5 separate regions of the Homo sapiens genome follow, and all the other regions are linked to region 1. The links are contacts of gene promoters, found by promoter capture Hi-C in blood cells and fetal thymus (Javierre and others, 2016). All regions are on one chromosome and are shown on one strand. Each heading gives the region's core, a stretch centred on a gene start or on the middle of the fragment in contact. The rest is flanking DNA. Distances are from core to core; before and after follow the strand shown. Region 1 holds the start of OSER1 (oxidative stress responsive serine rich 1). Region 2 holds the start of TOMM34 (translocase of outer mitochondrial membrane 34). Region 3 overlaps SRSF6 (serine and arginine rich splicing factor 6). Region 4 overlaps SGK2 (serum/glucocorticoid regulated kinase 2). Region 5 overlaps YWHAB (tyrosine 3-monooxygenase/tryptophan 5-monooxygenase activation protein beta).

Region 1 (3,950 bases), core at 225-2,724:
CTTCCAGCATTTTTTTACTACTCACTTTTTTTCTCAGTTATTTTAGCCAAGAGCAAATGAGCGTTAGGCATAACCTTAAGAGCTAGAGAAGAGCATGTTTGTAATTATAAAAGGCTCATTATGCTCCTCTGCATCCCCAGATCCCCATTCAAAGAAAGGGCTGTACAACTAACTCCGGACAACAGATATAATTGGCTTGCCTTTCTTCATTAATATTAAATTTGTGGGAGACAGTCTTGGCGTTTTCACTGCAGTGAACTCGTGAAGTTGAACAATCTCCAAAGAGATGAAACTTTAAAAAGCCTATTCGAAGTTAAAGTCAAATCACACCAGGCAATTTAACTTTGCCTCGGATTTTCCACAACCTTACAAAAATTACAAAGTTCTTCTAAGTTCCTCCATCAAAAGGCCAAATTCCTGGTTTTTTCTTTCAACAAAATGGATGCGTCACAATCTTATTTACATCTTGCCGTTTTAACCAAGACCTCCTTGAATCCCAAGCCTAGGTCTACACTTCCAGGCCCCTGAGAAGACCTAAGAACGATCAAGAAGGGATGCGCGGGTAAGCGTTGTCATCACAACATTAAAGATTTCGAAACTCCCAGACCACCAGAAAGCGTAGAGTATGGGGAAGAAAACCAAACCCAGCAACTCTAAGAGGCAAACTAGACCGGGAGGAAACAATCGGCCCCCAGGACAAAAAGCACATTCACACCTCTCCGTGCAACCCACTCATCCCTTTATACTCGCAGCGCTGCAGCCAAAGCACAAAGTTCTTTCTTTTCACCCAGAGTCTGTGCCTGTCGCGGTTAAACATGAACGGAGGAAAATTCCTAGTCAGAACCCAGAGGGGTAGGACGGGGCTTGGAGTGTGGGGACAACGCCAAGCAGGGAGCTGTCCAGGGGCACTGCCCGCCCGGGGTCTCCAGCTGTGAAGTTGCGCTCCTCGGGAGATTCCTGGGGTCAGAACGAGAGGCTGGAGTCGGAGCGAGGCACAAGGGATGCGGGAGAAGAAAGGAGTGGGGCCGAAGAGGTAGCCAAAGAGAATGGGGCTCCGAGGCGAGAGAGAAAGGACTGGAAGGGGCAAAGGGCGGCCAAGGAGGGCGAAAAGGGGAAGCTGCCGCTGGGCGGGAGACGGCGGAGGAGCGAGACGGGGCGGGGGACCGCGGGAGGACGGGAAGGCGGGAAGGGGAGAGAGCGTGGAGCTCGGAGCTCCAGCAGGCACAGGCCGCGGCAGATAAGGGGGCGCGGAGAGGCCCAGGCCCGGCCCAGGCAGGAGGCGTCGGGAGACGACGCGACCCAAGGCGGGCGGGCCCGGGGAAAACCGCCCGCGGCCAGACCGGCAGTGGAAGCTGAGACGCAGTGCTGCGGCCCCTCCCCGTCACGTCAGGGCACTTACCTCCTCGCAGCTGGGACGCTCCGGTGATGCGGGGCAGTCAGTTCAGAGCGTCTCTCCCAAATCTCGGCACCCGACTGACCCGGATCCAAACCAGCCAAGGGGGCGGCCCGCGCCTCGGGAGTCGCGTTGCGCCTGCGCACTCCGGCATGCACCCCTCCCCCTGCTTATGCTCCTCCCACCCCAGTGACTCGGCAGCGCGGCAGCCGACGACTGCGCAGACGCAGGGCGGCGGCCGCGCCTCTCCAACGCCCCGCACCCGCCCCCCTCAGAAGCACGTGCGCCTTACGTAATTTCCTGTTATTCTTCGGTTTGCCTCCTCCCAGTGGCGTGGATTTGCTCCCGACCCGCTTTTGGGGCGTGCCTGCTTCCTCCTCTCTGTTAGGTGAGTGAGTAGGCGTCATTCTTCACAGTAGTCCTCTGCCTCCACCGCCCCGGGATCTCCTTGCGCTCGGTCCTCTACGTGGAGTCACCTATGCAGAGGAATTCCACGGGGCGGGGGCGAGGACAGGGTGCGGGGGTCTTTATGGCAGACAATCCCCGGCTGAGCGCTTGGCCAGAGTTTCTGTGATGCTAGAATCTGGACTGCCTGCGACCTCTCCGGGACTCGGACACCAGCCCTCGCCTCCTGGTGATCTTTTAGGTCCTGCAGAGAAGTGAAGAGGTATTGGACGTGGCCAGGGTCAATAGTGTGAAGCCAGAATTAGAATTGAATTGAAATGCCTTCGGTTTTGATATCTCTGCTGTTTGTCTTGAGGCAACTGCTTTTCCTCCTTTGGGCCTCTCAGTTTTCCATCTAGTAAGTGAGGAAGTTGAACCTTATCGGTGAATCTCGTGTTTTCAGGCGTAGACTCCTTTGAGAATCTGGTGAGAACTGTAGATCCTCTTGCCAAAGAAATGCACCTACACACCAAATTTTGCAAAAAGATTTAGGCAGTTCACCAAAGGAGATGAATTTTAGGATTCTTTACATTTTTCTGATTCTGAATGTTGCTCAGATGGTAGGCGGGAAAAGGTGATCTGTGCAACAGCTGCCACCCGCTCCATCACCAGGACTGGTTCTGCTGATCTAGCTGTGCCTCTCCTCGCCTGCCAATCTCCAGCTCCACGTCTGCACTGCTCAAAGCTTCGTGAGAACAGATGATTTTGCGCAATTGAGTTGGATGGCGTTGATTGTGGCCCACCCCTAGAGTGAGGGTTTTTCCCTGAACCAAAACTGGCCCCATCCACCGTCATTCCCCAATACCTTAGTTGTAGTCAACTAGATAGGCTGCCGAAGATGGTTTAACTGTGTCCAGCTTAACTACAGCCAGGCTTTGGAATGCCTGGCCTATGTCTGTAAATGAAATCTAACAATTTATTGTATAACGTTGTTAAACATGAAGCATGATGTTGGCCCTGGATAAAACATTTTAAATTCTCGTCGTTCATACCAGAGGCTCAGTAACTGACCGGTTGAAAGAAAACTGTTCATTGTAACCTAATGATGCTAGTTAGATAGCATTAGATTATGTTAGAGATCAGATAACTTGTTCTAGCTGCCTTTGTCCTGTCTCACAGTGCTAGTAAGTCAGGATTTAAACTGCCCTTCTCAACATCTCTTGGACAAGAAAAAGCGGGAAATATGATGTATTTATTTTCTCAGACCTTGCCAAGTGAAATGTATCAAAACCAAACATGTCTTTTTAAGCTGCCACTTCAAAATATAACTTAAGATAAAATCTCATATATCCTTGAGAAGGCCTGGCACGGTAGCTCATGCCTATAATCCCAGCACTTTGGGAGGCCGAGGCGGGTGGATCACTTGAGGTCAGGAGTTTGAGACCAGCCTGGCCAACATGGCGAAACCCTTTCTCTACTAAAAATATGAAAAATTGGCTGGGCATGGTGGCGCATGCACCTATAATCCCAGCTACCCGGGAGGCTGAGGCAGGAGAATCTCTGAAGCCGGGAGGCGGAGGTTGCAGTGAGCCGAGATTGCGCCACTGCACTCCAGCCTGGGCCAACAGAGCAAAACTGTCTCAAAAAAAAAAAAAAAATCTCATATATCCTTGAGGGGAAAGAATTGTCTGGATCGTGATTGAATTCCCAGGGCTTAGCACACTTCCTGGGGATTAGTAGATGCTCAATACAGTTTTGGTGAATTCTCATTTTACCTGCTTTCCATCCCTAATTATATTAAATACCAAAAACTAAAAAGTTACAGTATTTCATTTTATGTAAGCACATCTCCATCATAAAGAGTTAGATGCTTTCCAAGAATGTGACTCATTACTCGGGGAGTACTTGGAAGGTGGGAACCTCTTGTGAATGCTGAAGCCTGTTAACTCACACACCTGACGTGGCCTGAAGTTTTAAGTCATTATACATAGGACTGGCTCACGGTGTGATACATCATGACTTGGAAAGAGATAGAAAAGCTACAAAATGGGATGGATCTGAGTGAACAAAAAGCCAGATCGGTGTCCTATACCAGCAATTCCAAGTCTTTTTAACCATGGGAAAAAAACCTGAATTTGTGTGTGGACTTTATATTGAAGAAATCAACTTTGTA
Region 2 (4,046 bases), core at 1-2,500, 750 kb after region 1:
CGGCGCGGAGCTCCTCCACAGAGTCTGGGAATTTGGGGGCCATCCCGTGGCCAGGCCGGCGAGTTGGGAGCTCCTTCCTTCCTCCCCCGTGTGGTGCGGCACACCTTCCGGGCGCAAGCGCCGGCGGCGAATATCTCCGCCCAACAGCGAACCCGCGGCGAGGGGGCGGGGCCTGCGAGACCTGGAGGCCCGGAGCGTCCCGCCCTCTGCGCGTGCTCGGTTTGGAACTTAGGCTCCCTTGCACGCGGGGCGGCAGCATGCTCTGGGCTCCCTGAGTTGCTAGAACGCCGTGGATGACGCAGGGAAGGAGGCTGGCCCCGCTATCAGGGAGATTATGTCCTAGTGGGGTCCCCACAGGCAATTAACTGATAAGCAAACGAAGACTCTCATTTCATGTGATTAGTGCTGTAAGGAAAACAAAACAGGATAATGCAATGGAAAGTGACCACGTGTGGGCTATTTTAAATAAGGGGATGAAGGAAGGCCTTTCTCAGGGGGTAATAGTTGAGCTGAGACCAGACAAGATTTAGGGAATGCTGTTCCAGCCAGAGGGATGGTAAGTGCAAAGGTTCCAAGGCTAGAAAGTACCTGGTACCTAGTGCTCTATAGATATTTATTTAATAAATTAATGCACAGGTGGATTGATGGTGTCAAAGTCAACATATAGAGATGAATCTCTAAAGTTTAAATATTTTATTTGGCAATCAAGAATTGCAATTCAGGGCTTACACACAGACCAGGTTGTCTTTGGTATGTCAGAAGAACAAAGAGAAGGTTTGGAGATTTTTATAAAACAGAAATGTTACATATTGCTCTTCAAGGAAGTTTACAGGCACTAGTAAAGTGGGGGTTTATCAGCTTCTTGGGGAGCTGGCAAGCTTTGATTGGTAAGTGATAGTGGTGGATAAAACTCAGAATTGTAGCAGGCTGTTTCAGTAGCTATTAGATAAAACTGGTTTTAGGTTACAGCAGGCAGTTTTAGCAGCCAGGCTTGCAAAAAATTACTTTTTTGGAGCAATGTTATATGCCCTGAGTATTTGTTCCCCTGGCTTTTCAATTCTGTCTTAGTTGGATATGACAAGAATGACCCAATTCGTATGATCAGCTTTCAGAATGGATGAAGATCTTTCACAGAGTGTGACTTCAATTTATCTCCAGCCTCATCTGACGACTCTATGTCCCACGCATTGCTATCTACACACACTAAATTCTTGCTTCCTAGCCTTTGCTTGTTATCTCCTTCTCCTGGATTTTTTTTTCTAAATACTTTTTCTCCTGCCTAATCCTGAATTAACTTATAACATTCCATTCAAACATCATCTTCTCTGAAAGCCTTTCCTGCTTCCAGCCCCCTCCCCACCCCCCACTATGCTCCCTTTGCTCCCTATTGGTCTCTAGCTTTATCCCTAACTTTGCATTAGTCACCCTTTGATTGCCAGTTTGTAGTTTTCCTTAAACACTGCGAGGTCTTTAATGGCAGGAAGTGGGTCCTTTTTATCTTTGTTTATCCAAGACCCTAATAGGGTCTGGCATCCAATAAAAGTCATTGATTGATAAAGATCTAGTCTCTACCTTCAGGAATTCAGTTATAATGATCTGCATACACTTAACTCCACCAGACTATAAGCTTTCTGAGGGCTGGATGGCTGTTCCATCTGAAATGCTTCCCCTTGCCCTCTGCCCCGACCAAGGATGAACACTGACTGTGGTGGGAAAACCAGATGAGGCCCATGCTGCTGGCTGGCTACTCAGTGACTTCCATCTTTGCTTCCAGGAGCCTGAATTTTGCCTGAGACTCTCCCAGCCTGGGGAAGTGAATCAGGATTGCTCTAAGCCAATTAGAAAAATGTCATTTTCTCTTGCCAGTGATTCATCAAGGGATGCACATGTGATGCTGATCTGGGCAATGAGATAAAAGGGAGTCTGAGGCTGGTCGCAGTGGCTCACATCTGTAGTCCTAGCACTTTGGGAGGCCGAGGCGGGTGGATCACAAGGCAGGAAATCGAGACCATCCTGGCTAACACAGTGAAACCCCATCTCTACTAATAATACAAAAAATTAGCTGGGGTGGTGGCACGCACCTGTAGTCCCAGCTACTCAGGAGGCTGAGGCAGGAGAATAGCTTGAACCCGGGAGGTGGAGGTTGCAGTGAGCTGAGATTGCACTGCTGCACTCCAGCCTGGGCGACAGAGCAACACTCCGTCTCAAAAAAAAAAAAAAAAAAAAAAAAGAGTCTGCTGAGTGTTTATGGGAAAGGTTTCCCTCCCCATAACAGAGAGGTACTGGGTCAAGTAGCCATTCTTGCTCTTTTTCTGCTTTGGGTAGTGCTGGGTTAAGGATATGATACCTGGAGGTGTGGCAGTCATTTTGCAACCATGAGGCAATAAACACAAGTATGAAAAGCCAACATGCTGAGTAGGATGGGAGGGGAAAAAATGAAATAGATATTGCTGAGTCATTGAATCAACTGCTGACTTATTAGCTTATTAATAAACAATAAAGGCAAGGTGTGGTGGCTCACAGCTGTAATCCCAGCTCTTTGGGAGGCCGAGGTGGACGGATCACTTGAAGTCAGGAGTTTGAGACCAACCTGGCCAACATGGTGAAACCCCATCTCTACTAAAAATACAAACAGTAGCTGGGCGTGGTGGCATGCGCCTGTAATCCCAGCTACTCAGGAGGCTGAGGCAGGAGAATTGCTTGAATCCAGTGAGCCCAGATCACTGGGCTGCTGTGGTCCATCCTGGGCAATACGGCGAGACTCTGTCTCAAAACAAACAGTAAATGCCATGGTGCTTTAAGCCAACATTTAGATGTTTTCACTTGCTTGCAGCTGAATATTTCCTGAGTGGTTTATCGGATAAGTGTAGCTGTGGCAAATTTTATTTTCCAAAAATGGCCCCAATAATATTTCTGGTTCCCCAAGCTCTTCCAGACCCTTGCCACTGCCCTATGAGGAGGTGGAGTCTGCATCCCTTCTCCTTGAAACTGGGTGGGCCTTTGTGGCCCCCCTCCACAGTGGTAATGACATTAAGTATCTTCCACTAAAAGGCACTGCAGCATCCCACTTGGCTCTCCCTCGGGAACATGCTTTAGAACCCAGGCTTTATTTTGTGAGGAAGCTCAAGAAAAATGGAGACGCCCCTAGCCTTCAGACCCAAGTGAGCTTCCAGCCAACAGCTAGCACCAACCTGTCAGCTGTGTGAAATGCCTTTTGGACAGGGCTGATTGATCCTGATTGACACCATAAACAGAGATGAGCCTTCCTGCTGAGCCATGCTCAAATTGTAGATTTCTGAGAAGAAAAAAAGACTGTTGTTCTATGCCTATAAACTTTGGGGTGGTTTCTTACACAGCAGTCAATACCTGGAAATCCCTTCCTGCAGTGCTTCCTATAAATGCCAGGACTGATAAAAACAGTACTGAAATAATTTGAAGGAGGGACAGATGAGAGGGTCAGGGGAGGGACAAGGGAACAGAGAAGTCTTCTGGGAAGAGGTGTCTTTTTTTGTAAAATAGCTTTATTGAGATATAACTCACATATTGAAAGTGTACAATTCAATGCCTTTTAGTATATTCAGAGTTGTATAACCATTACTACAACCAATTTTAGAACATTTTCATCACCCCAAAATGAAATCTCACACCTTTTAATCATCCCCTCCAATTCACCTATGCTCCCTTCCACCAGGGCCTTAGACAACCACAAATCCACCACAGGATTTGCCTATTCTGAACATCTCCAAACCTGCCAAAGCTATGCCATTAAAAGGCACTACAGCAAAGAGCATCATGCAACTTGCATCACACTGGGGGCCTGGCACAGAAGTGGCGGTGGTGGCACCAGGCAGGGCCTGATCCACGGGGTCCAGGGTGACCATGTGGGTCATGCAAATGGCATTACACAAATATGCCATGCTTGGCTAAGTTTTTTGTAGAAAAGGGGTTTCACCATATTGCCCAGGCTGGTCTCGAACTCCTGTTCTGCCTTGGCCTCCAAAAGTGCTGGGATTACAGGTGCAAGCCATCATACCCAGTCCCTTGAA
Region 3 (3,805 bases), core at 423-2,922, 750 kb before region 1:
GGGCAGGCGCGAGGGCCGGGGGTCGTTTGACTTGGGTGTCCCCGAGCCCCGCTGCCTTCACGTCTGCCCGGGGCAGCCATGGGACGCCGGAGCGCGGGGATTGGGTTTGGGTGTTTGGTTTTGTTTATTTGCCAAGTTGGGAGGTGGGTGGCTTCTTCTGGCCCCTTGTCAGCACTGTCACGGGTTCTTCCCACAGAGGAAGTAAGGGGTGGCTGTATTTGTTGTATTCTCCTTACTTACCTATCAGTGCATTAGTTAGAGGTTCGGGGGCAGGCTCGGGTGGAGGTGGGGTAGGGGGCGCGGGGGACGGGGAAGGGGAGGAGCATAAAGTATAGGTCTTAAAGCTATGGAACTTGATGGGGGCCAAAGAATGTACTATTTTTAAGTAATGTGGTATTGTACCACAAAGTAGATCTAAATAAGCTTTATGCTGTATTTGAACTAATTGGGGCATGTTATTGGGAGGAGGTTGGGGGGATTTTTGGTTATGTTAAATGTTTGATGTTTAAATTGTTGCATGTTGAATTCAAACTTTTTAACAAGTCCTTGATGTTTCAATTTGAAAGTGACCAATGGGGCTGAGGCTGTGTCCACTGAGGCTAAGATGACTGCCTTTCCTGATTGGCCTTGGCTTTTCCATACATTGTGTGACCCTTGCCCTATGACCCTTTGGCTGACCTTACCGGAAGCCATGACGACAGCAGCCTTTTGCCATTAGACGCAGGGTGATGGTGAGGATTCCAAGGGTTAGACAAAACTGGTTAATCTGAACTAGGTGACTGTTACCTTGCGTGTTTTGTGGCCAAACCACCACCAAAAACCTCACACTGTGATGTAAGTACTTAGTGTAAAACTAGTAAACATTTTTGTAAAATGTAGAAATGCATGTAATCAGTTAAGTTTTATATTTTACAATGTTCTGTAAAATAAAACTTAGCGAGGTAAATCGAATAAAGGAGCAGTCACTCTCTAACAGATTGTAGGAGAGGTTTAGTTGGATTTAGTCTATTTGACTTGCCCTTAATTTAATTTTATGGCAAATCACAAATGTGTCGAAGGTTTAGCAATATAATAGCAAAGTCCTACTCCAGTAAATAAAAGTTGATATGTTTGTACTAACTTTCAAAGACATTATGCGTTTTTATCATTACAAGGCATCTAATTGTTCCCTTCATGTGATAAAGGTGGTGGAGGTGGATACAGCAGTCGGAGAACATCTGGCAGAGACAAATACGGACCACCTGTTCGTACAGAATACAGGCTTATTGTAGAAAATCTTTCTAGTCGGTGCAGTTGGCAAGATTTAAAGGTATGTTTTGTAATTCAAGATAGAAATGATATGACTAATGCTTTAAAGTAAACTCCTTTTATATTCTTATTTCTGGGAATTTATTATGGTATATAGATGTTTTAAGATTTCCGAGTCTGACCAATCTTGTCTTTCAGGATTTTATGCGACAAGCAGGTGAAGTAACCTATGCGGATGCCCACAAGGAACGAACAAATGAGGGTGTAATTGAGTTTCGCTCCTACTCTGACATGAAGCGTGCTTTGGACAAACTGGATGGCACAGAAATAAATGGCAGAAATATTAGGCTTATTGAAGATAAGCCACGCACAAGCCATAGGCGATCTTACTCTGGAAGCAGATCCAGGTAACTTGTTGAAGGACACTGTGGGAAGGAAACAATATTTGCCAATAAAAAGGGAGTAATTGAGTGATGTCAATTGTTGCCTACTTGAATTAAAGCCAGCTTTTAGTTTGTTTTGGCTGTGCATCATTGCGTTCTTTTCTGGATGTTTTGAACAGTGTATTTAATTTCGTAGTAAAGAAAAACATTATTCTTTGGCTTATCTATTTTTGCCAGATGGCACGGATGTATTTAAGTTGGATTGGGATTAAGACTTCATTGTTTTTCTCCTAATAGGTCTCGATCTAGAAGACGGTCACGAAGTAGGAGTCGCAGGAGCAGCCGCAGTAGATCTCGAAGTATCTCAAAAAGTCGCTCCCGGTAAATAACGTTGTGTTGAGTCACTGTGAATATTACCGTACTTGTTTATGGAGTATGTGTACATTCTCACTAAGTATTGAGAAAATCGGTCTTTCCTTGTCCAGTTCCAGGTCGCGGAGCAAAGGTCGATCACGTTCTCGATCAAAAGGCAGGAAATCTAGATCAAAGAGCAAATCTAAGCCCAAGTCTGATCGGGGCTCCCATTCACATTCTCGAAGCAGATCTAAGGATGAGTATGAGAAATCTCGAAGCAGGTCTCGGTCCCGATCCCCTAAAGAAAATGGAAAGGGTGATATAAAGTCAAAATCCAGATCAAGGAGCCAGTCCCGTTCCAATTCGCCGCTACCTGTTCCACCCTCAAAGGCCCGTTCTGTGTCCCCTCCACCAAAAAGAGCTACTTCAAGATCCCGTTCTAGATCTCGCTCAAAGTCAAGATCAAGGTCCAGGTCGAGTTCCAGAGATTAACTCAGAACTCCTTGTTTGCACATTATTATGGAACACTTTCCTACTTAGGCAGTTACTCTTCCATGTTTATACTTGGCCTCTTCTGCAAGAGGAATCTCTTGAAAACAGGGGCACACAGAAATTTGATTTGTGGCCAAATTGGATGAAAAAGATGAGGCTCTAAGGAAATGGTGGCATGAAGACCCTCTCCCTTCTTTGTAGAATTAAGATAACTTTGATTTTATAGCTTTTGAGCTAACGTAACTTTTGTAAAGATTAAGCTCATTTAGTGTTGTTTTTTTTTTTTTTTTTTTTTTTTTTTTTTTTTTTTTAGTATTTCAGCAGGATCTGCTGGCAGGGTTTTTTTGTTTTATTTGTTTGCTTATTTTTAAATTAACTGTTTTGAGCTTTGAATACTTAAGGCTTTAGAGGGAGAACCCAATTTTCAATTATGTTGGCTTTTTATAAAGCTTGAGTTATGTAAGATTTAAATAAAAGTTTGCTACCAAGATGATTGCCTTATTGAATAGGTCACTATTAAATTCCTTTAAATGTTGATATCTGCCATTTGTGGAAACAACGTAAATTCTACTTAAGTGTAAACAAGGCAAGCCTCAGACCAGCAATAAATTACTCAGTTTGGATAACATTATTTTGTGCAGTTAATCAAATTTGCCAAAGTCTTTATCTGCCCCTTTAACAAGTTGAGTAAAAATAAAAGGTATTTTTTAGTCAATGTGTTCCATGATTTTGCTTAAATTAATACTTTTAAGTAATGGAACTTTTTTCAAAGGCAAATTTAAACTATTTAAGAAATAGCTCCTAATACTTGGGATCTTGTTTAGAGAATCCACTTTCTGGAAGTTCTCAGCATAATTAGTGTTGAGAGTGGTTCAGTTGTCTTTAATGTTTGTCATGTGGAAATGGAAGTAGCCTCTTTTTGTTCTGAAATTGAGTTTATTCAAAGTGTAAAAGCACATACTGCATTTTCTGCTGAAAGATCATTATGTTTAACAGGCACTTAATCTCAGTAAAGTCAGTTGCCAGTTAAGTTCCACCCAGTAGTCAGTCCCCTTTGTAGTTAGTGGGATTATTTGATAATTGGTTAGATCATACTTGTAAATTTTAATGCTTTGTGTAATTGGTTTGAAAAACAGTGAAATGGGTAAACGCAAAACTTTTGTACTTTATTACGAGTAAAGTGTAATGAGTACTGTGGAAACCAAATTTGAATACTGCAAATTTGTAGGAGTTACTAGGTTAGCAATTAGTCCATACATCCATAAGCCTGATGAGTTGAAATTGCAGTTTGAGAAGTGAATTAACCTTACATCCCTTTGTTCAGATAC
Region 4 (3,837 bases), core at 827-3,326, 630 kb before region 1:
CACATAGATCAAAATTCAAAGGGTACAAAAGAGTATCTAGAAAAAGTCCTTCCAGCCACCCAGTTCCTCAATTCAGAGGCAACCAATGTTACCAATTTCTTGGGCATTCTTTCGGAGGCTTTTTTTTTTTTTTTTTTTTTTTTGAGACAGAGTCTTGCTCTGTTGCCCAGGCTGGAGTGCAGTGGCATGATCTCGGCTCACTGCAACCTCTGCCTCCCGGGTTCAAGTGATTCTCCTGCCTCAGCCTCCCAAGTAGCTAGGATTACAGGCACACACCACCACGCCTGGCTAATTTTTCTATTTTTGTAGAGACGAGGTCAACCATGTTGACCAGGTTGGTCATGAACTCCTGACCTCAGGTGATTCACCTGCCTTGACCTCCCAAAGTGCTGGCACTACCAGCGTGAGCCACTGCACCCAGCCTCTTACGGAGATATTTTGGATCTGGGTTGTTAACCAGCCCACTGGGGTTCCTGATATAGGGAGGTGGAGAATAATTATTTGAGAAACACAGATAGAGGATGTGATGGAAAGAAGTTGGTGCCAATGTTGATTTTGATTAGGAAAGGTGGTGAATCATGACCAGGGCTGAGTCCTAAAATCTGGGTGTCTGGGAATCTGAAGGTCTTCTTGGGGGCTTTATTTTTCAAACCTTCCCTAGTGAATTGATTTAGTCTACTTCTCTGGTTTGCATACTGGAAAACTCAAGATGTACTGAAGCAGAGTGAGGGGAGGGGTCTCCAAGCTCCCACTGGTACTCCCCCACCCCCAGAGCAGATTCTGATGTATTATTCACTGACACCCCCAAAGCCTAGCAAAGGGTCGGTGCCCAGAGAAGATGCTCAGTAAATAGTTTTGGAATAAACAGATGCTGTAGTGGGGAGAAGGGTTTGGATTCTGGATGATGGGAGAGGCTTGGCTGCAAAACTCTCTTGTCCCAGGAAACTAGCCAGAACTGCAAGTTAATTTCCAGTTGACAGCCAGTTGCTTGTGGAGCTCTGGAGGATGTGGGGGTGAGGTGAGAGCACCCATGGGGAGGGCTACTTCTAACCAGAACCTTTTTTCTGCACTTCCTGCAGCTTGAGATTAAGAACCATGTATTCTTCAGCCCCATAAACTGGGATGACCTGTACCACAAGAGGCTAACTCCACCCTTCAACCCAAATGTGGTAAGAGGTCACAGCATTCTAGACTCTGGATTTCCGGGGCTGGGGGAGCTTGCTATGCTTGCCAACTCTCCTTATCTAGATGGAAAACTTGGGGGTCCAAGAAGCTCAGTCATTTGTCCTAGGCTACACAGTCAGTTAGAGACAGAACTGGGCCTGACTACAGGTGCAGCTCTTGGATAAACAGCCATGTTGCTGCTCCTTTGTCTTGAGCACCAATAAATAACTCTGGCTGCAGAGACTTTTACAGTTTGTGAAGTGCTCTGTTTCGCACAGCACACCCACATAGGGCCAAGCCCTTTAGAGATATTTTATCCTTTTCTATTTATAGACTTTTTCCTGATAATAAAAATGACATATATCCTTATAAAAAGTATGTAAAACACTGGCCAGGCACAGTGGCTCACGACTGTAGTATCAGCACTTTGGGAGGCTGAGGCGGGTAGATCACTTGAGGTCAGGAGTTTAAGACCAGTGTAGCCAACATAGTGAAACCCCATCTTTACTAAAAATACAAAAATTAGCCAGACATGGTGGTGCACACCTGTAATCCCTGCTACTCGGGAGGCTGAGGTGGGAGAATAGCTTGAACCTGGGAGGCAAGGGTCACAGTGAGCCAAGATCATGCCATTGCACTCCAGCGTAGGCAACAGAGGGAGACTTCATCTCAAAAAAAAAAAAAAAAAAAAAGGGAATGTATGTAAAACAGAAAAGTTTAAAGTAGCAGTGGCGAAATGCTTATTATCTCACTACTTAAGGGAAACCACTGGCATATTTCCTTCCAGTCACTTTTCTATGTGTTTTTTTTTGTTTGTTTTGTTTTGTTTTTTTTCTTGAGATGGAGTCTCACTCTGTTGCCCAGGCTGGAGTGCAGTGGCACAATCTCGGCTCACTGTAAGCTCTGCCTCCTGGGTTCATGCCATTCTTCTGCCTCAGCCTCCTGAGTAGCTGGGACTACAGGCGCCCACCACCATGCCCGGCTAATTTTTTGTATTTTTAGCAGAGATGGGGTTTCACCATGTTAGCCAGGATGGTCTCGATCTCCTGACCTCGTGATCCGCCCGCCTCGGCCTCCCAAAGTGCTGGGATTACAGGCGTGAGCCACCGTGCCTGGCCTGTTTTGTTTTGTTTTTAACCTAATTAGGTCCTACTTTATAGTATCTATATGTGTGTGTGTGTTTATTCATCTATATTATCTTCCTCCTTTTTTGGCTAAAAACTATGTTATAATTTCCTCATGTCATAAAAAATTTTATAAATACAATTTTTAGTGGCTGCATAATATTTCCATCTTATGTTGGTAACATAATTTACTTACCCATGTTCCTAATGGCAATCTTATGGTTGTTACTATGTTTTTTCTTTATCATGATGTGCTGATGAACAGCTTTAAGTATATGTCTTTGCCCAGAATTCTGGTCATTTCTTTAAGATGGATTCCATATGGGGAATTCCCAATGCTAATGTTTTTTAGATTCTTTTTTTATTTTTATTTTATTTATTTATTTTTTTGAGACAGAGTCTCGTTCGATCGCCCATGTTGGAGTGCAGTGGCACGATCTCAGGTTCAAGCAATTCTCATGTCTCAGCCTCCCGAGTAGCTGTGATTATAGGCATGCGCCACCACGCCTGGCTAATTTTTGCATTTTCAGTAGAAACGGGGTTTCACCATATTGGCCAGGCTGGTCTCGAACTCCTGGCCCCGAGTGATCCACTCGCCTTGGCCTCCCAAAGTGCTGGGATTACAGGCGTGAGCCACCGCACCTGGCCATTTTTAGGTTGTTGATTCACACCACCTTTTCACTGTGTGGAAGGGAGAACCATCTACTTCCTACCAGCGGCACTTGCTGGAGAGTTCTCATCTTGCTTGCACTCTGAAGCATGTGTGGTTATTGTTTTTTACTTTGCAAATTTGGTAAGTAAAAAACAGCATCTCTTAATTGTTTTAATTTATATTTCTTTGTCTTATAGTAAAGATGGTTAGTTTTTTAAATTTATTTATTTTTTGAGACAGGGTCTCACTCTATCACCCAGGCTGATGTGCAGTGGCATGATCTCTGCCTATTGCAACCTCCACCTCCTGGGGTCAAGCCATCCTCCTACCTCAGCCTCCTGAGTACCTCAGCCTCCTGAGTAGTTGGGAGGTGGGTGCCACCACACCTAGCTAATTTGTATTTTTTGTACAGATGATGTTTTTCTATGTAGCCCAGGCTGATCTTGAACTCCTGGGCTCAAGTGATCCACCCCCTCAGCTTCCCAAAGTGCTGGGATAACAGGTGTGAGCCACCACACCTGGCCAGTTTTTATTTTCATTTTTATTTTTATTTTTATTTTATTTTATTTTATTGAGGTGGAGTCTCACTTTGTTGCCCAGGCTGGAGTGCAGTGGCACGATCTCAGCTCATGGCAACCTCTGTCTTCTTGGTTCAAGCAATTCTCCTGCCTCAGCCTCCCGAGTGGCTGGGACTACAGGCATATGCCACCACACCTGGCTAATTTTTGTATTTTTAGTAGAGATGGGGTTTTACTATGTTGGCCAGGCTGGTCTTGAACTCCTGACCTCAAGTGATCTACCCACCACAGCCTCCCAAAGTGCTGGGATTACAGGCATGAGCCATCGCGCCTGGCTTTTATTTTTATATTTTTGAGATAGAGTCTTGCTCTGTTGCCC
Region 5 (3,272 bases), core at 1-2,500, 700 kb after region 1:
ATCATCCCTGTCTGCAGTGACACAGGAATAATTTTAAACTGTCGAGTGAGATAAGATTATACATACTGGGCCACTTACCTAGGGAACTTTTAGTAGCCCTGCTTTGATTATACTTCCTTTCTCTTGCAGCTGTGGACATCGGAAAACCAGGGAGACGAAGGAGACGCTGGGGAGGGAGAGAACTAATGTTTCTCGTGCTTTGTGATCTGTTCAGTGTCACTCTGTACCCTCAACATATATCCCTTGTGCGATAAAAAAAAAAAAAAAAAAAAAAAGAGAATCGTACGTCGACTTTCGATTTTTCACAGCCTCAGCCTAGGAAAAATGGTTCATGGGATAAACAGCTGGTATTTGTATCTAAAACTCAGATTGGTCACATAAATGCCACGGCATTCCGAAGTTTTGATTTTGATTAACATTGACAGGATTACTGTGTGTTTAATTTTTTAAAAACTGAACACTGTGATTATGGGGTTTTGTAATTTAGCAGAACTCTTACTGGTAGAAAAAATAGACCTGAATTATGTGTAACTTTTTGGAAGGTTTAATCTGATATCAAAATAATCATTGAAATACAATTCCATTGTAAAGTTGTACAGAAAGTTATAGAGATTATATTGTGATGCTGGAACTTGGAGTGAGACACACATCATTTGGCATTTGAGTTGAATGGTAATTCACAGTAATGCTGCCGTTGTTCGGGACTTAAAGACACTTGACCTGTTTGGGCTGTTGCCACTTAAAAGTTCATGACCACAAATGTCCACAGTGTCTTCCTCTGAGGAAACTCGAATCCTGAAATGGAAATTCTTTGTGGCAGATAACTGGCTTATGACACCTTGAAAAGTTCAAGTGCTCATATAACACACCACACTGAACCCCCTTTCCTACAGCAATATGTTCACTATGTTACCAATTTGCAACTTGTGCTTCAATAGTGGAATCTACTTTCATTGTTAACACTGAGCTAAAGAAAAAAAGCCGTGTGTTTTATGAATGACCTTATCTGTTTCCTGGATAATACCTTTAAGAATAATGTCCTGAGTCAGGCGTGGTGGTGCGTGCATCTAGTCCCAACTATTTGGGAGGCTGAGGCAGGAGGATCGCTTGAGCCCAGGAGTTTAAAGCTGCAGTGCCCTGTGGTTGCACCTGTGAATAACTGCACTCCAGCCTGGGCAACATAGCGAGACCTCATCTCCAAAAAAGAAAACAAAAAACAAAAAAAGGAATGATGTTCTGTAGAGATGGCCTTTCACTTGAGGAGTACTCAGTTTTCAGGTTCTTCCTAGCTCGGGGCTTTTAAATTTTGAAATCTAAACATTCTTTCCCACCATCCTTTTTGACTGTTGACCTTGGTTTTCTCTTCTAAGTTTCTGTCCCTCTGCTTCCTTACTTTTTTTCCTTTTTGAATTCTATCTTTATCTGTCTTTTGTTCACTTTTTAATGCTATATATGGGCAGGGGTGAGAGACATTACTGAGCACCTTGGTGAGCAAGCCTGGCTTTAAAGATTGGAGAAGAGCTTCTGGCACCAGAACCCTGTCTTCCTCCAGTTCTCAACACGGTGTTGCTCTTCAGTCATACCGGAATCTGAATCAAAAAAGTATTTTTAAATATCCATGATTTCTCCCTGTATTGAGGCTAGCCCTGATCATGCTTTTTGTGCCTGTCACCAGGTCTCCCAAGTGCACTCATCCAGGTCAGTGCTCAGATGTGTTTAAGGAGACCCTATATTCAGGGAAGTTGCGTGAACACTGCAGTGGGGAGAATTGAGAATAGTCAGGCCTATCAGTCTCACAGAATCACCCCTCTACCTTTGATATTCCACTTAGCTGTAGAGTCCATCTGTTTGTCCATCTGCTGAAATGAGAAAAGAAAAATTTATGCACTGATTTAAAACAAACCAAAAAAAAAGAAAAAAACAAAAAAAAAAATCCCTCCTTTCTAGCTGAACAAAAATGTGCAGTTAATACTTGGCGCTTGAAAATGCAGTAGTGAATGTGGAACCAAGCCTGTCTGTATATCTGGTAGCTCTTTTCTTGCTTTGTTTTTTCTTACCAGTATTCTGCCTAACGTTTGCTTCTGTGATGGTTATATTGCCTAGCAAGCACACCCGTGGTTGTGAAAATAGTATAGCAAAAAAGAAAAATCCCCGGTTATTGATGTACTAGATTTGTGTATGTCTTTTAAACAGTTCTAGTTTCACCTTACACAGAATAATCAGGAAAAGTGTAAAAATTCAAAAGTGAAATAAAAATTTTATCAGTTAGTTGCCTGTGAATTGATGTGTCACCACCATCTCTGTTGTTACCAGACCTAGCTAACTATTCTGATCACACTTATTTTTAACTCTGTTTTCTTTAAAAATAGGCAAACAGTTTTATTTCATTATTTAGGACCAGAAGTCAAGGTGTTATCCAGGGGAAGAAATTACCATTAATTAAACAGCCTCTTTACACCCGTTACTTGATACCTCTCTACCTTCCACAACAAACCATGCAGGTATTAGGTCCTCTTTAGTGACTTCTAAGATTTGGTATGGACAGTTATTTTGCATTGTATTCGAGCCCACCATCCCTTCCCCATTTTTTAACTCTGAGATACAACCAAGCCAGTGAAATAGGTAACCTATGGTTGCATAAGTCTTGGTCATCACCAAGCTGGCGTCTCACCTGTCCTCACACTGTATGGTGGCCTGCAGAGCTGGTTCCTCACAGGATTTGCCCCTTCTGAAAACATCCACATTACCACAAGGAGAGAAAAATATCAGGATAGAGGGGTCTTTTTTAGCCCAAGATTAGAATTAGTGCTTCCTTGCTACTCTGAGGCTGGACAGCCAGATGGGCACCTTCTGTCCCTAGTTTAGGAGCTGTTCCACCTGTTGAAGCCACACTCAACCAAAAGTCAGTGGGGGCCTACCTGCTCTGTTGGATCAGTGAGACCAGGAAAGTCCTATCAGAGGAAAAGTGAAGTATTGGTGCTCAGTGGAGTAGTTGTTTTGTTTTTGTGTTGTTTTTAATGTCCCTATACCACAGATTGACGCTGCAAGCTCAGATTCACAGTCTTGCTCTGTTTAGGTCTTGCTCTGCTATTAGTTCCCAATTGTCCGCATTTAGGCTGAGCCACAAGTAACTCAGTGAACCTCCCTGGTGTAATGGATGTGTAATGGCTTAGCAGAGGGACAGGGAATATCCCAGGAAAAGGGGTCTTGGTAATATGAGCCAGTACCAAGAAAGGCCTTAGTGGTCTCCAGTTCTCATGTCTCAAAGCCAT

Evidence for each region. The method cuts DNA at HindIII sites, captures the fragments that hold promoters and counts their contacts. A CHiCAGO score of 5 or more calls a contact.
Region 2: a contact is called between a fragment that was not itself captured here and the fragment with the promoter of OSER1 in region 1, in 1 of 17 cell types (fetal thymus). The highest score is 5.1, in fetal thymus.
Region 3: a fragment that was not itself captured here is called in contact with the fragment with the promoter of OSER1 in region 1 in 8 of 17 cell types (M2 macrophages, monocytes, total B cells and 5 more); the score reaches 12.0 in M2 macrophages.
Region 4: a fragment that was not itself captured here is called in contact with the fragment with the promoter of OSER1 in region 1 in 1 of 17 cell types (neutrophils); the score reaches 5.4 in neutrophils.
Region 5: a fragment that was not itself captured here is called in contact with the fragment with the promoter of OSER1 in region 1 in 1 of 17 cell types (total B cells); the score reaches 5.6 in total B cells.

The regions. Positions count from the first base shown.
Region 1 is chr20:44,209,297-44,213,246 of GRCh38, forward strand. It overlaps OSER1 (oxidative stress responsive serine rich 1), which reads right to left and starts at 1,475. Exons shown (of 4, transcript NM_016470.8): 1 at 1,400-1,475. It overlaps OSER1-DT (OSER1 divergent transcript), which reads left to right and starts at 1,664. Exons shown (of 3, transcript NR_038339.2): 1 at 1,664-1,781. RefSeq lists an enhancer at 885-1,504 and silencers at 1,164-1,233, 1,429-1,877. The HindIII fragment of the contact is 3,146 bases long and covers 1-2,520 here.
Region 2 is chr20:44,960,291-44,964,336 of GRCh38, forward strand. It overlaps TOMM34 (translocase of outer mitochondrial membrane 34), which reads right to left and starts at 107. Exons shown (of 7, transcript NM_006809.5): 1 at 1-107. The coding sequence starts at 43. STK4-DT (STK4 divergent transcript) reads right to left here. Exons shown (of 3, transcript NR_038341.1): 3 at 3,504-4,046. RefSeq lists an enhancer at 1-55 and a silencer at 286-365. The HindIII fragment of the contact is 749 bases long and covers 877-1,625 here.
Region 3 is chr20:43,458,587-43,462,391 of GRCh38, forward strand. It overlaps SRSF6 (serine and arginine rich splicing factor 6), which reads left to right. Exons shown (of 6, transcript NM_006275.6): 3 at 1,185-1,309; 4 at 1,447-1,655; 5 at 1,929-2,012; 6 at 2,117-3,805. The coding sequence ends at 2,477. Among named protein-coding and RNA genes, the nearest start is that of SRSF6, 2.6 kb to the left of the region's middle. RefSeq lists an enhancer at 1-55 and a silencer at 1-96. The HindIII fragment of the contact is 2,503 bases long and covers 422-2,924 here.
Region 4 is chr20:43,578,893-43,582,729 of GRCh38, forward strand. SGK2 (serum/glucocorticoid regulated kinase 2) reads left to right here. Exons shown (of 13, transcript NM_170693.3): 12 at 1,080-1,169. Among named protein-coding and RNA genes, the nearest start is that of IFT52, 10 kb to the right of the region's middle. The HindIII fragment of the contact is 4,480 bases long and covers 1-3,837 here.
Region 5 is chr20:44,906,253-44,909,524 of GRCh38, forward strand. YWHAB (tyrosine 3-monooxygenase/tryptophan 5-monooxygenase activation protein beta) reads left to right here. Exons shown (of 6, transcript NM_139323.4): 6 at 130-2,280. The coding sequence ends at 186. Among named protein-coding and RNA genes, the nearest start is that of PABPC1L, 2.2 kb to the right of the region's middle. The HindIII fragment of the contact is 4,218 bases long and covers 1-3,272 here.